Linked DNA regions of Homo sapiens: region 2 is linked to region 1. The links are contacts of gene promoters, found by promoter capture Hi-C in blood cells and fetal thymus (Javierre and others, 2016). All regions are on one chromosome and are shown on one strand. Each heading gives the region's core, a stretch centred on a gene start or on the middle of the fragment in contact. The rest is flanking DNA. Distances are from core to core; before and after follow the strand shown. Region 1 holds the start of SUPT16H (SPT16 homolog, facilitates chromatin remodeling subunit). Region 2 holds the start of ZFHX2 (zinc finger homeobox 2).

What was found. The method cuts DNA at HindIII sites, captures the fragments that hold promoters and counts their contacts. A CHiCAGO score of 5 or more calls a contact.
Region 2: the fragment with the promoter of ZFHX2 here is called in contact with the fragment with the promoter of SUPT16H in region 1 in 1 of 17 cell types (non-activated CD4 T cells); the score reaches 5.2 in non-activated CD4 T cells.

What each region holds. Positions count from the first base shown.
Region 1 is chr14:21,381,132-21,387,191 of GRCh38, forward strand. SUPT16H (SPT16 homolog, facilitates chromatin remodeling subunit) reads right to left here and starts at 2,888. Exons shown (of 26, transcript NM_007192.4): 1 at 2,731-2,888. The coding sequence starts at 2,796. It overlaps CHD8 (chromodomain helicase DNA binding protein 8), which reads right to left. Exons shown (of 38, transcript NM_001170629.2): 38 at 4,068-5,045. The coding sequence ends at 4,482. LOC107984643 (a long non-coding RNA gene) reads left to right here and starts at 3,142. Exons shown (of 2, transcript XR_001750627.2): 1 at 3,142-3,582. The HindIII fragment of the contact is 3,293 bases long and covers 265-3,557 here.
Region 2 is chr14:23,548,198-23,554,257 of GRCh38, forward strand. It overlaps ZFHX2 (zinc finger homeobox 2), which reads right to left and starts at 3,568. Exons shown (of 10, transcript NM_033400.3): 1 at 3,146-3,568. It also overlaps a transcript of THTPA not described here. RefSeq lists enhancers at 1-236, 2,360-3,022, 3,872-3,921 and a silencer at 3,502-3,741. The HindIII fragment of the contact is 16,619 bases long and covers 2,008-6,060 here.

The DNA of each region.
Region 1 (6,060 bases), core at 1,638-4,137:
AGGTCTCCTGTTGATTTTTGACTGACTCCATTTTCCCATCTCTAAAATGACACGATTTACTTAGATACAGGGCTTAATATTTTTGAAATTTCTATTCAGTTAAAAGTACATGGTAACTACAATTGTTTTTAGGACATAAGTTATGAAAATTATAATTAAAAAATATTTTATTTGCAATAGCCTCAAAATATGTACCTAACTGAAAATTAACTTGCAGATAGGTAAGGTTAATTCCTATTCTTATTTTTAAAAAAGGGAAGAAAAAGCTTAGTAGCCTATCAGTTCTCTACAACCCTGTGTACTTGTATTTGGACTGCTGGAACTACCAGGTTCAACCACTACAGCTTTTAAGGGCTTATAATCAAGAGTATTTAAAATTAAAAGTGGGTTTGGAGCCCAAATCATTTTTTAGTTAATTTTAGTCATAACAGTTTTTTTTTTTAAGATGGAAGCTGAAAGCAAAAGGCTTGGGATTTATTTTTTTTTTTTTTAATTTATTTTTTAAAGACGGGGTCTCATCCAGGCTGGAGTGCAGTGATGCGATTACAGCTCACTGCAGCCTCAAACTCCTGGGCTCAAGGGATCCTTCTGCCTCAGCATCACAAGTAGCTAGGACTATAGGCACACACCACCATGCCTGGTTAATTTATTTGCCTTTTTTTTTTTTTTGTAGAGACGGGGGTCTCATCATCTTGCCCAGGCTGGTCTTTAACTCCTGGCCTCATGTGCTGGGTACAGGCATGAGTCACGGTGCCCAGCCAGGTTTGGAATTTTTACCATTAACTTCAACTTATTCTATTTCAATCCCAGTTTTCTTATTAAAAAAAGGAAAAGGTGTAAAAGAGAAAAGTTATACAACACACCTATATATCCCACTATCTTTCTGCTATATCCAGGAGGATAAGCGACTAGATTTAACCCAGAAAACTACTATCTCTGATTAAGTGTATCAGAATGAAAGCACTGTAGGGTGAAAAGACTGCATACACAAAGAACTTCTACAGGTGGGTTCTGGACACATTAACACAAAAGCAGAAAGTCTTATTCAAGTAAGTTTTTCATAATAGCCACAGGTTTTGTTAACTGGTACATTTTTACATAGATTTGGCTCATAACTTTACACCATCAGTGTCTTATCAATATCTAACATTCTCCCAAGATGATGTCATTAAGGTAGTAAGAGGGCCAAGATAAACTTTAAAGATTTTTGAGATACAAAAAAAAATGGTGGGTGGGAAATAACTTTCATGGATTTAAAGACTATCAGTTTTATTAGGTTTGCCAACCTGTCTTCAGGCCACAGTTAATTTGTCATGTAGAGGAAGTGAGAGCTATAGATTAGTTTTCATGAATGGTATAGAGAGAATGAAATTATTTGATGAATCTGAATCACTGGGACTAGAAACAATTTTCATACCAAAGGTTCACAGTTTCAGGGTTTATGGGTACAAGAGAGGGCTTCGGATTTTTAGTACTTACTGATCATTAGAAAGTATCAAGGTTTTAAAATGTTTTTCTAACATCGATTATGTTTGAATAATATGACACTGAGAGAAGCTGCAAAAAATCATTTGGTAGAAATTAATCAAAAAATTAAAAAAAATAAAATGTTCAGTATTCATCTAGCATTTAGTTCTTATTTTTCCTTTTCATAAAATGCAAGAGAATCAATTTTATTTTCAATTATCTAATGTATTTAGCCCCAAAAGATGAAACATGCACAGACAGCTTTAATATGAATGGCAAGGAAACGACCAATTTTAATGGCTTGGTTTTAGTAGATGACCAGTTTGAAAGATAATTTACAATGCTGAAATGAGAGCTGATCATTTTTCTCAAAACGTTTTTCAGGTTAAAAAAAAATCTTTATTAGCTGTATCTTCCCTTGATGACAGGGTTCAGGGGCAAGACTTAAGCTAGCCAACTCAGACTGCATCACAGAATGCAACCAAATGTTTGCTCAATTAGTAAGTTAACATCATAAAAATAAGTTTTAACTGTGGACGTTTTTAGAGCAGCAAAACTGCCGAATCTTTAAAAAACTGGGAACTGCCACAGCTCTTTTAATGAACACGTGCCCCGGATACGCTACCAAGGAACTAATAAGGTTTTAGGCATCGTTTTGTTTTGTTTTGTTATTACTAATGCCTGCAGGCTTTCAGCGTTAGGTCCCTCTCTGTAACCCACAGCAGGGCCTAGAACATGAGGCGGTTGCGCGTGAGCAGTATTTCTTTTTTTAACTCCAGCAAAAGCCCCGCAAACGATAAACGCTAAAAGCCCGATTGACATCCTCCTTGCCCTTCCATCTCTCCTTTACGAAGACGGTTATAATCCTGGCGGGACCAGGGGTGGAATATTGTGGTTCTGGAGGGACAGAGCGAGTGCGTGAGAACACGGCAGGGGAGGGCAGCAAGACGTGACCACGGAGTAGGAGGGAAGGATGTTGCCTCTTCTAGGGCGGGAAGAGACTGCGAGAGGTGCTGCTATGCATGACCAAGGCTGGCACGCGGGGAAGATGGTGATGGCCGCAGGACAGGGTGAATGCGGGGGATTCCCTGTTAAGGGGCAGCGTTCGTGGCCGCCTCCGGTGAATGATTCGGGAGCAACGAAAAGGGTGAGGCACAGAACCCGGGAATTCCTGACCGAAAGAGAAAAAAGGGCGCCGAGAAACAGGGTTATTATGGGATGGCTAAGGGGGCTCCCTAGGAAAAATTACAGGATCTTCCTCACCCGCCAATTGCTGTACAGTCTCTTCACTCGCCGATAATAAGCGTCTTTGTCCAGAGTCACAGCCATAGCCCCGGACGCCGCTTCTCCTCGGGTTCCGAGAATCACGCGAGGTCCCGGCTCAGCCACCCGCTCTCGGCCCAGGAATCCCGCACTCTCCCAATGACCCGGAAGTATCGACCTCAAAGATGCCCTTTCCGCTTCCGGGTCCCAACAGCGTTAGGTTTTTTTTTTGTTTGTTTGTTTGTTTTGTTTTTTTCCAACCCTCTTTCGGATGGACGGGGGAAAGAGAGAAAGAAAAACGAGGGAAAATCAACAAAATGTGCGATGCAAAGAGTCGATTTTCGCGGGGTTTGTCAACTTCGCCACTGCCGCACGCGAATCGACGTCGTCACGTGACGGTCTGCCTCCGCCCTTATTAACTCTCAGCCCAGCGGCGGTTTCCAGGACCTCAGACTTTTTGCCGAGGCGGCAGTCCCTAGACGAAGCGAAGGAGGCGGCGCCTGCCCCGCCCACAAGAGCTGCCGCGCGCGGGTGTTATAGCTCCACCCCATCTGCAAAGGAAGGGGGAGCGGAAAGAGCGGGATCTAGCGTGGGATAAAAGTGGGACTACTACAGTGTAACTGGGCATGCGCCCCTCCTAGAAATGATGGGAATGCAAAAGCCCTTGACTGCTCCAGGACTCGAGGGATCCTCGGTGCCAGGATGCTGGGTCAAGCGCTCCGCCGGGACAGAGGACTCATACCAGGGAAATGGAGCCCAGCCTCGTGATAAACTACGACCCAAGCTGGGGGAGGAACCTAGTTTTCGAAAGGAAAATAATATGCGCAAGCTTTAACTGAGCAGTGGGATGGTGTAAGTCAGAGGAAACAGATGACTTGAGGGGCTCTACAAACTTTTAGTTCCTTCCCACAACCCCACCCCCTGAGCCCAAGTCGCGGCAGCATCCTTCCAGTCGGCCAGTCCCCTTGCTGCAGTTCATGAAAACTGGCACTATTCTATGGCTTCCCCCAAATAACCGTTACTTCAGTTAATTAGAAACAAAACATAAATGGTTCCTGATGACATTCTTGCTCCCTGTCTCTTCTAAAAACTTGGAGTTTGAATCCAGAAGTTTGCCTACCTACCATTTACCTTAAATAATTCCCTTGCCTTTAGCCAGCTGGACAGTCTACATTTGTATATACCCTTTAGAGGAGTACAGATGACTTGTCTGCTGTAAGGCAATTTAGTATAAACAGTATTGAACTTAAGGAAAGTGGTGCTGAAATTACCCACCATTAACAACTCAAAATCAATACACTGGGTTTGAGCAAACATAGAACAAAGGAAGAGTGGAAAAGGATTAACTTAAATTTATTAATGCCAAGGGGAAAGAAGGTAACAGTTCCTGACCCTCCAGCTGTATCCACAGTTCGGCCAGGAACAGGCTCTGCCAGAGGCTAGGGCCAGCGCTACATAGTCTGTGGTTAATGGAGGTGACTAGGGAGGGGTGAGCACACCAGCTGCTCTAGTCTCCTTTCCTTCCCCAGAAATGAGGAAGTGGTCATGTATTATTTTAGGAGTTCCCCTGCCCACCCAATCCTCTCATAATTGGGAGCAATCAGGTACATTTTTTTTTTTTTTTCCTTTTCACCTCCTGGAGTCCTGGACTTCCCCACATCTCCCCTGCCCCTCCCACGTTTCCATAGTCCAAGGGCCAGAGTAAATGAAAATACAGCAGCCGCCCAAGCAATGGGGCCCATGCTGGGGCTTCAGTCATCAGCATCTTCACTGGAGTCTGAGTTAGCTGGCATCATAGGATCATCAATGAGTGAGAAGTCCCTTTCTGAGCTATCATAGCCCTGAGATAAGTCATCATCATCTTCTTCATCCTCATCGTCATCCTCCTCAGGTTGCAGTGGTGGCAACCGCAAGGTAGTACCAGAGGCGGTAGTCACTGGTGAAGAGGGGTAGCCAGGGGCTCTCAAGCCTGGATGGTGATGGTGGTGATGGTGGGGGTGGGGGTGGTGGTGGTGGTGATGAAGCATGGTGCTGGAGTCTACATGAGGGGATGATGGTGCACCACCCATCACAAATGGCATAAAAGGCAAAGATGCAGAAGTGGCACTGCTGTGACCCAAAGATGACACAGACTGTAGGCCACTACTGCTGTGTTGGAACGTGTTATGCAGAGATAGAGACCCAGTGCTTCCACCCTGCATGAGGGCCATCATCTTAGAAAGGTCTGGTCGCATCCTACGGGCCCGCTTCTTGCTGCTCTCTGGTGCAATAGGCCCTGGCAAAACCCGGTTGAACACCGTTTCAGTGTGATGACCCTAGGAGGAGGGAATAGAAGATAATAAAAAGAAAGAAAGGGGAAAAAAGAAAAGAAACCAAAGCCAACAGAGTCCTAGCTTACAATGCTTTTTTACTGAATGTACCTTAGAAGAGGCAAAACAAGCACAGCGATACTAGGCTTGATTGGTGGTAATGGGAAGGAGGAAATGCTGGACTTAGCTGGTTGAAACATTCTGATACTAAAGTTAAGATCAATGATTTTGTACCGAAACTCATATTAACCAGTTTTTGCTTCTTTTCCCCATGACTATATTGTATCTTTACTTTAGTCAACCATTTCACAAATGCTTACCTTTGTTAAGAAGGGGTCTGGGTAAGACAATGAATTAGTAAATGCACATAAAAAAAATCACTTGTGACCGGGCGCGGTGGCTCACGCCTGTAATCCCAGCACTTTGGGAGGCCGAGGCGGGGGAATCACAAGGTCAGGAGATCGAGACCATCCTGGCTAACACGGTGAAACCCGGTCTCTACTAAAAATGCAAAAAATTAGCTGGGCAAGGTGGCGGGCGCCTGTAGTCCCACAGCTACTCGGGAGGCTGAGGCAGGAGAATGGTGTGAACCCGGGAGGCAGAGCTTGCAGTGAGCCGAGATCGCGCCACTGCACTCCAGCCTGAGCGACAGCGAGACTCCGTCTCAAAAAAAAAAAAAAAATCACTCGTGTCTCCTGATGGCAAGTTGTTCACTTGTTCTTACTATGTGAATTGACATTTACAATAATATCCTCTATTAGCACATCAAAGCAGGGTAAATTCAAGACAGATCAGATAAAGATTTCTACATGTCTAGAACACCAAAAAACTGTCAGAAACTCCTCACTAAATTTAATAAAATAATTTTTGTTCCACATTGATAAAAAACTTACATATCTGAATTTTAAATGGCTTCTTCTAGATGTTCTGACTAAAAATTCTGATTAAGTTCATTGAAGATAGAAGTTATTCCTGCAGGTCCCAAGAATAACGTAGTGCTAGATTCACTGTCAATTCTATA
Region 2 (6,060 bases), core at 2,318-4,817, 2.2 Mb after region 1:
GTCTCTGCCTGCCTTTTGATCCAACCATCCTGACCTCAATGCCCTGTCTTAGGTTCCTTCCTCTTGCTACTGTCAGGCTCTAGCAAACCTCAGGTGCTCACAAACAGGAGTTATTTGTGACAACTGTTGTTCTGAGCTGGGAAGAGCTCCAGGGAGGCAAGGTCAAGCTACCAGAGTCAGAAATCCTACCAATTCGACCCAGGCCCTGGCCCGTAGGTGATACAGCACCCCGGCAAAGCAGCAAGTGATTCCTGTATGGGTCTCAAGGTAACACCAGCTGCCTCTGACATCATGGAGGGAGGAACCCTGTCAGGTTGCCAAGGCAATACCAGCAATTTATGACATCAGAGGCTTGAGGTCTTTGGTTCTCAGGGGCTGGGAAGATTCAAGTTCCTCTCAGCTGAAGTTTATGGGAATTCTACTTTTTCATCTCTTTGCTTGTGTTCTGGCTTGGGAATGAAATACAAAGGCCTTTCGTGGGGGTAGTGAGTGATTAGGCCAATGAAATGAATGCTCGTGAGGTTCTCTCTCTCTCTGTCTCTTCCCTGGATATTTCTGCTTTCTCTCCCTCTCTTGGGCATTTCTCTCTTCTGGGGCTTCGCCCAGTGGTATTCCTGCTATTTGTGCTATGCTTTTTTTCCAACCCCCCGGCGCCCCCGCAGTGCTCTCGCTCTCTTCGCATCAGTCACGCTGTGTCCTCCTCACACCAGAGGCATTTGTTTCCTTTGATACCTCATCCTCTCCTCTTTTCCTCCTACCAAGCTCTGTGCAGCTCTGATCTGCCTCAGCACTCCTTCGTTTGCCATCCATTTACCTTCTTTGTACCATACTCTCTTCCCATCTCATCTTGTTCAGCAATTCCTCCCTTCCCCCTCTTTACTACTGTATTAATTTCATAGTGCTTTTTCTGTTGACCTCCACTTTAGGAATATTCTATCATTTCTCTTCCTTTTACCTTCTGTATTGCTATCAACACGTTTTGTTTCATTCTTCCAATTTCTTATTAATCACCCCTTGGTTCCTCCCCTGCCCCCGAGTCCGCATAGATTTTCCTCCCTTCCTTTGCACATCCCTCACGTCATACATTTCTCTACCCCATGTGTTTATTGCACCGACCACCCCTTTCTTTCTTTAATTCTGTTCACCTCTGAAATCGTCCATCTTCTGCCCATGTCTGCCTGCTCCTTTTACCTTTCCAAGCTCCTGAGGTTTGGAAAAACAATGATGGGCTAAAAACTAAGGTAAACTCTCCAGATCCTTTATCCACCCTTACTGTTCTTCAGGCTAAATGAACTTGGCTCCTTACATACGATAGCTTTTATTACACTAATAAACACTGCCTCATTAAAAAAAAATGGTGCTGGATCTAAATATGATAGTAGCAGGGGCCTAGGAAGAAGATGAACTAAAAAGTGAAGAAAAAGCAACTGATATCTAGAATGAACTGAAGGATGGGGGGCAACCAGGCAGGGTGGAGCTTAGAGTCCTAGGGAATGTCCCCTTACAAAATCAAAGTTGACAGTTAACTGACATAATGGCACTGACTGATGGAGGGGTTATATGCCCCTGGAAGCTCATTAAATTTATTTCTTGGCCTGTTTATGTGCCTTCACAAACCATACCCCACACCTCTCCCAGCCCTTTGCTTGCTGGTACTTTCTGCTGCTGGGGTTAAAATGCTGGATAAGAGGAAAAGGGATAAAAGAAACTAGAAACTTAGGGTGATCAAGAAGAAAAGGTAGGAAGAGGGCAGATTATGGGAACAAAGGTGGAAACTCAGAGCTCATGGGAAACAGATGGAAAAAAGGGGTGAAGCAAAATGGGGAAATAAAAAATATACAATGATACAGTGGGGGAAGGGAGTAAAATTAAGTCAGCAGGGAAGAGGTTTTGTTGTGCGAAGCTCCTGGAAAGGCAGATGACACGCATGAGACCAGAAGGTGAGGTTCTGATGAGGGAGACAGGCACATGGCAAAGGGGACAGTCAACAATGCTAGGAAGTTCCAAAGCTTCTCTGGTGATGGTGGAAGAGGAGGCTGTCCTGGCCATGCTGAAGGCACTAGAGGCTTTGGCGAAGACACATTTGCTCCATCATCCCACTCCTCCAGGCCCTGACTGTGACCACCACAATCATGACTGATAAGCAAATTCCAAAGTAGCCTGAAAAGGCCAGAGATATCCAGACAGACTCTGAAGGAGAGGGCATGGAATCCTAGACCGACAGAACAGGCAGCCAAGGCGTGACACATAGTGATAGAGACACACAAGGAGAGGATCACTCAGATGGGAAGGGTCACAAGTGGAGACAGTGACATACAGATCCAGAGATGGATGGGATGGAAGAGACAAGATGAAGAACAGCAAAACCAAAAGTCAGGGACACATGGACAGAGATCAGCGGGGCTACAGGCACAGCGAGGAAGCGTGGTCCTGTGCTTGAAAATGATAGGGCTGCTCAGAGGGGCAGACGAGCGGATGGGGGTGGTAGGATGGGCGTGCAGGACAGACACGCTTCACCTTGAATGGGCTTATGGCCTCCCCTCACCTACTCAACACTTTCAAAAAAAGGAATGGAAAGCCCAACTTCAGCCAAAAACGAACGAAGACTGAGAGTATCCACGTCCCCTCCCACTCCACGCCCCAGCGCGCTAGCCCATCCATCAGCCCGCCGGCCGCGGTTCTCCCATCCCACAGCCGGCGGGGGGCCGCCGAGACCCAGGACCCTCCAGGCTGACAGCTCTGAGCCCTCACACTCACCGGGCCTCCCCTTCCCCCCGGGATCCCCGCTCCCTGCCCAACTCGGCGCGGTCCGTCTAGGCTTTCCATACCCTTCGTCTGTCCGGCGGGCCTCTGCCTTTCCCGTTCCCGTTTCTCCCTCCACCCCCGCATCTCTCTTCCCCCATCCTCGCGCACGCCCTCTTCCTCCCACACCCCTGTCTGCTATCTCCCAGGGCTCTCGGTCTGTCTGTCCGTCCGTCCTTGTCCCCTCCCCCAGCCCCTTCCCGTCCCTCTCCGTCCCCTCCAGCGGCAGTCTCCAAGCGCCTCCTCTCCCGTCTCGAGCTTCCAAAGAGCAAGGAAGGGAAGAAGAGAGAGAGGGAGAGGAGAAAAAAACCAACCCAGCAGCATCGGAAATCGATGCACTTACACCTCAGCTGGAAGCAGGGACGGGAGTCGAACCGCGGCCACCGAGCAGCGCGAGGCGGGGAGGGGAGGGGGCGGCTCTTGGAAGGGACTTCTCCGATGTGTTGATTCCTCTTTTTTCCCCTCCTCCTCCCTCCCTCCAGCGCTCGCTCCGGGGCGTCAGGGACGGAGACGGAAAAAAATAAATAAATAAATTCACGGCGGTGAGGGAAGTGAAGGAAAATAATCAATGCTATTTGGCTGCGGCTGAAGTGTTTCCCCGGCTTCGTGAGGGGGTTTCCATTGATTCACCCTGGGCACTCGCTCGCTCCCTGCCTCCTCCTCCTCCTCCTCCTTCTCCTCCTCGCCCTCCTCCTCCTCCTCCTCCTCGCCCTCACTCCTCCGCCTCATTCACTGGCTGGAGTCTAGGCGTCCCACACAATGGAATAATCAATACCCAGGCGCCCGGGGCTGCCCCACTGAGCAGGTGCAGCGACCCGCCCGCCGCGGCGCATGCCGGGAGTTGTAGTCTGTTCGCGCCCGCCCGCCTGCCTCGCGGGACCCAGGGCCGGGGGCAGGCCGGCCAGCCCACCAGGTCGCCTCCAGGTTCAAGCCGGTGCCTGCAAAGAGGGCAGGCCCCTTTAAACTCTTTTCCGTCTCCTCTCCTCTTCATCCTGTGGCCTGCAGAAACCATACATGTGTTTTGTTGTTTTGTTTTAAATCAGCTTCAGAACAAGCCCTGAGCCGCCCAAGGCCTCCTTTTTTCATTCTCTTCTTCCTGCCTTATTATTCCGCCTCCCCCATCTCCCCCCGCGAAATTGGGTACTAGAACCTTCTCTACCGCAGCAATTACTCTTTAGTCTCTGAGAGCTTCTGCCTCCTCCACACGGTTACATAGTCCCCTGAGCTGGGTTGGGGGAGGTTCGGGCTCCTCCTCATCTTCAGTTTATCGCTTATTAAGTGCTCCTGAATTTTTTTTTTTTTTTTTTTTCTGGAGACGGAGTCTCACTCAGTCGCCCAGGTTGGAGTGCAGTGGTGCGATCTCGGCTCACTGCAACCTCCACCACCGGGTTCAAGCGATTCTCCTACCTCAGCCTCCTAAGTAGCTGGGATTACAGGCATGCATCAACACACCCAGCTAATTTTTGTATTTTTAGTAGAGACGGGGTTTCACCACGTTGGTCAAGCTGGTCTCGAACTCCTGACCTTGTGATCCGCCTGCCTCGGCCTCCCAAAGTGCTGGGATTACAGGTGTGAACCACCACCGCGCCCAGCCCGTTTTTTTGTTTGTTTGTTTTTTTCTTGAGACAGAGTCACTCTGTCGCCCAGGCTGCAGTGCAGTGGCATGATCCCGGCTCACTGCAACCTTCACCTCCCAGGTTCAAGTGATTCTCCTGCCTCAGCCTCCCAAGTAGCTGGGATTGTAGGTGCCCACCACCATGCCCTGCTAATTTTGTATTTTTAGTAGAGACGGGGGTTTCACCATCTTAGCCAGGCTGGTCTCGAACTCCTGACCTCAGGTGATCCACCGGCCTCAGCCTCCCAAAGTCCTGGGATTATAGGGGTGATCCACCTCACCCGGCCGCTCCTGTATTCTAATAATAATTTTTAAGATTTCTTGAATGCACAGGGACAGTTCCAAGCACTTTTACATACATTGTTTACTCCTCTCAATACCTCAAGCATGAGGTAGATGCTATTATAGTCTCATTTATTGAGGAAACTAAGGCACAAACAAGTGAATTAACAGGCCCAAGGTCCAATGGCCAATAAGTAAGTGACAGTGCCAGGACTCAAAAACCTCCATGGTCTGGCTCCAGGGCCCATACTAACTGCTATAGCCTACTTCTCTTAAACAACACAACAAAACCCTGAAGTTCACATGACAAAAAGGAGAGATAAATGAACATTTTGAGTTTATACTATGTGACAGTTTATGACTGAATCCTCACAGGTAACTGTGAGGCAGGCCACATTTTCTCAATGAAAAAGCAGAGGCTGGCCGGGCATGGTGGCTCACTCCTGTAATCCCAGCACTTTGGGAGGCTGAGGTGGGTAGATCACCTGAGGTCAGGAGTTCGAGACCAGCCTGACCAACATGGTGAAACCCTGTCTCTACTAAAAATACAAAATTAGCTGGGCGTGGTGGTGGGCACCTGTAATCCCAGCTACTCGGGAGGCTGAGGCAGAAGAATCGCTTGAACCCGGGGGGCAGAGGTTGCGGTGAGCCAAGATCACACCATTGCACTCCAGCCTGGGCAACAAGAGTGAAACTCCGTCTCAAAACCAAAAACAGGCCGGGCGTGGTGGCTCACACCTGTAATCCCAGCACTTTGGGAGGTGGAGGCGGGTGGATCACAAGATCAGGAGATCGAGACCATCCTGACTAACAGGGTAAAACCCCATCTCTACTAAAATTACAAAAAATTAGCCGGGCATGGTGGTGGGCACCTGTAGTCCCATCTACTTGGGAGGCTGAGGCAGGAGAATGGCATGAACCCTGGAGGCGGAGCTTGCAGTGAGCCGAGATGGCGCCACTACACTCCAGCCTGGGCGACAAAGCGAGACTCCGTCTCAAACAAACAAACAAACAAAAATTAGGAGGGTGGGGTGGCACGTGCCTGTAGTCCCAACTACTCAGGAGGCTGAGGCGGGAGAATCATTTGAACCCAGGAGGCAGAGGTTGCAGTGAGCTGAGACGCCAGAGTGAGACTCTGTCTCAAAAAAAAAAAAAAAAAAAAAAAAAAAGCAGATGCTTAGGAAAGTGGAGTAGCTTGCGGAAGGCCAAACATCTAGAAAGTGAAGCTGGGAGTCGACCTCAGGTCTGGCTCCGGAAACTGGTCTTTCTGTTCAAATAAGCTGCTGCTTTTGCCCCACTGGATTGGATCTTATAACATAAGGAAAAATTAGGTCTTCATCCCAGGTTAACAAAACCGGAAA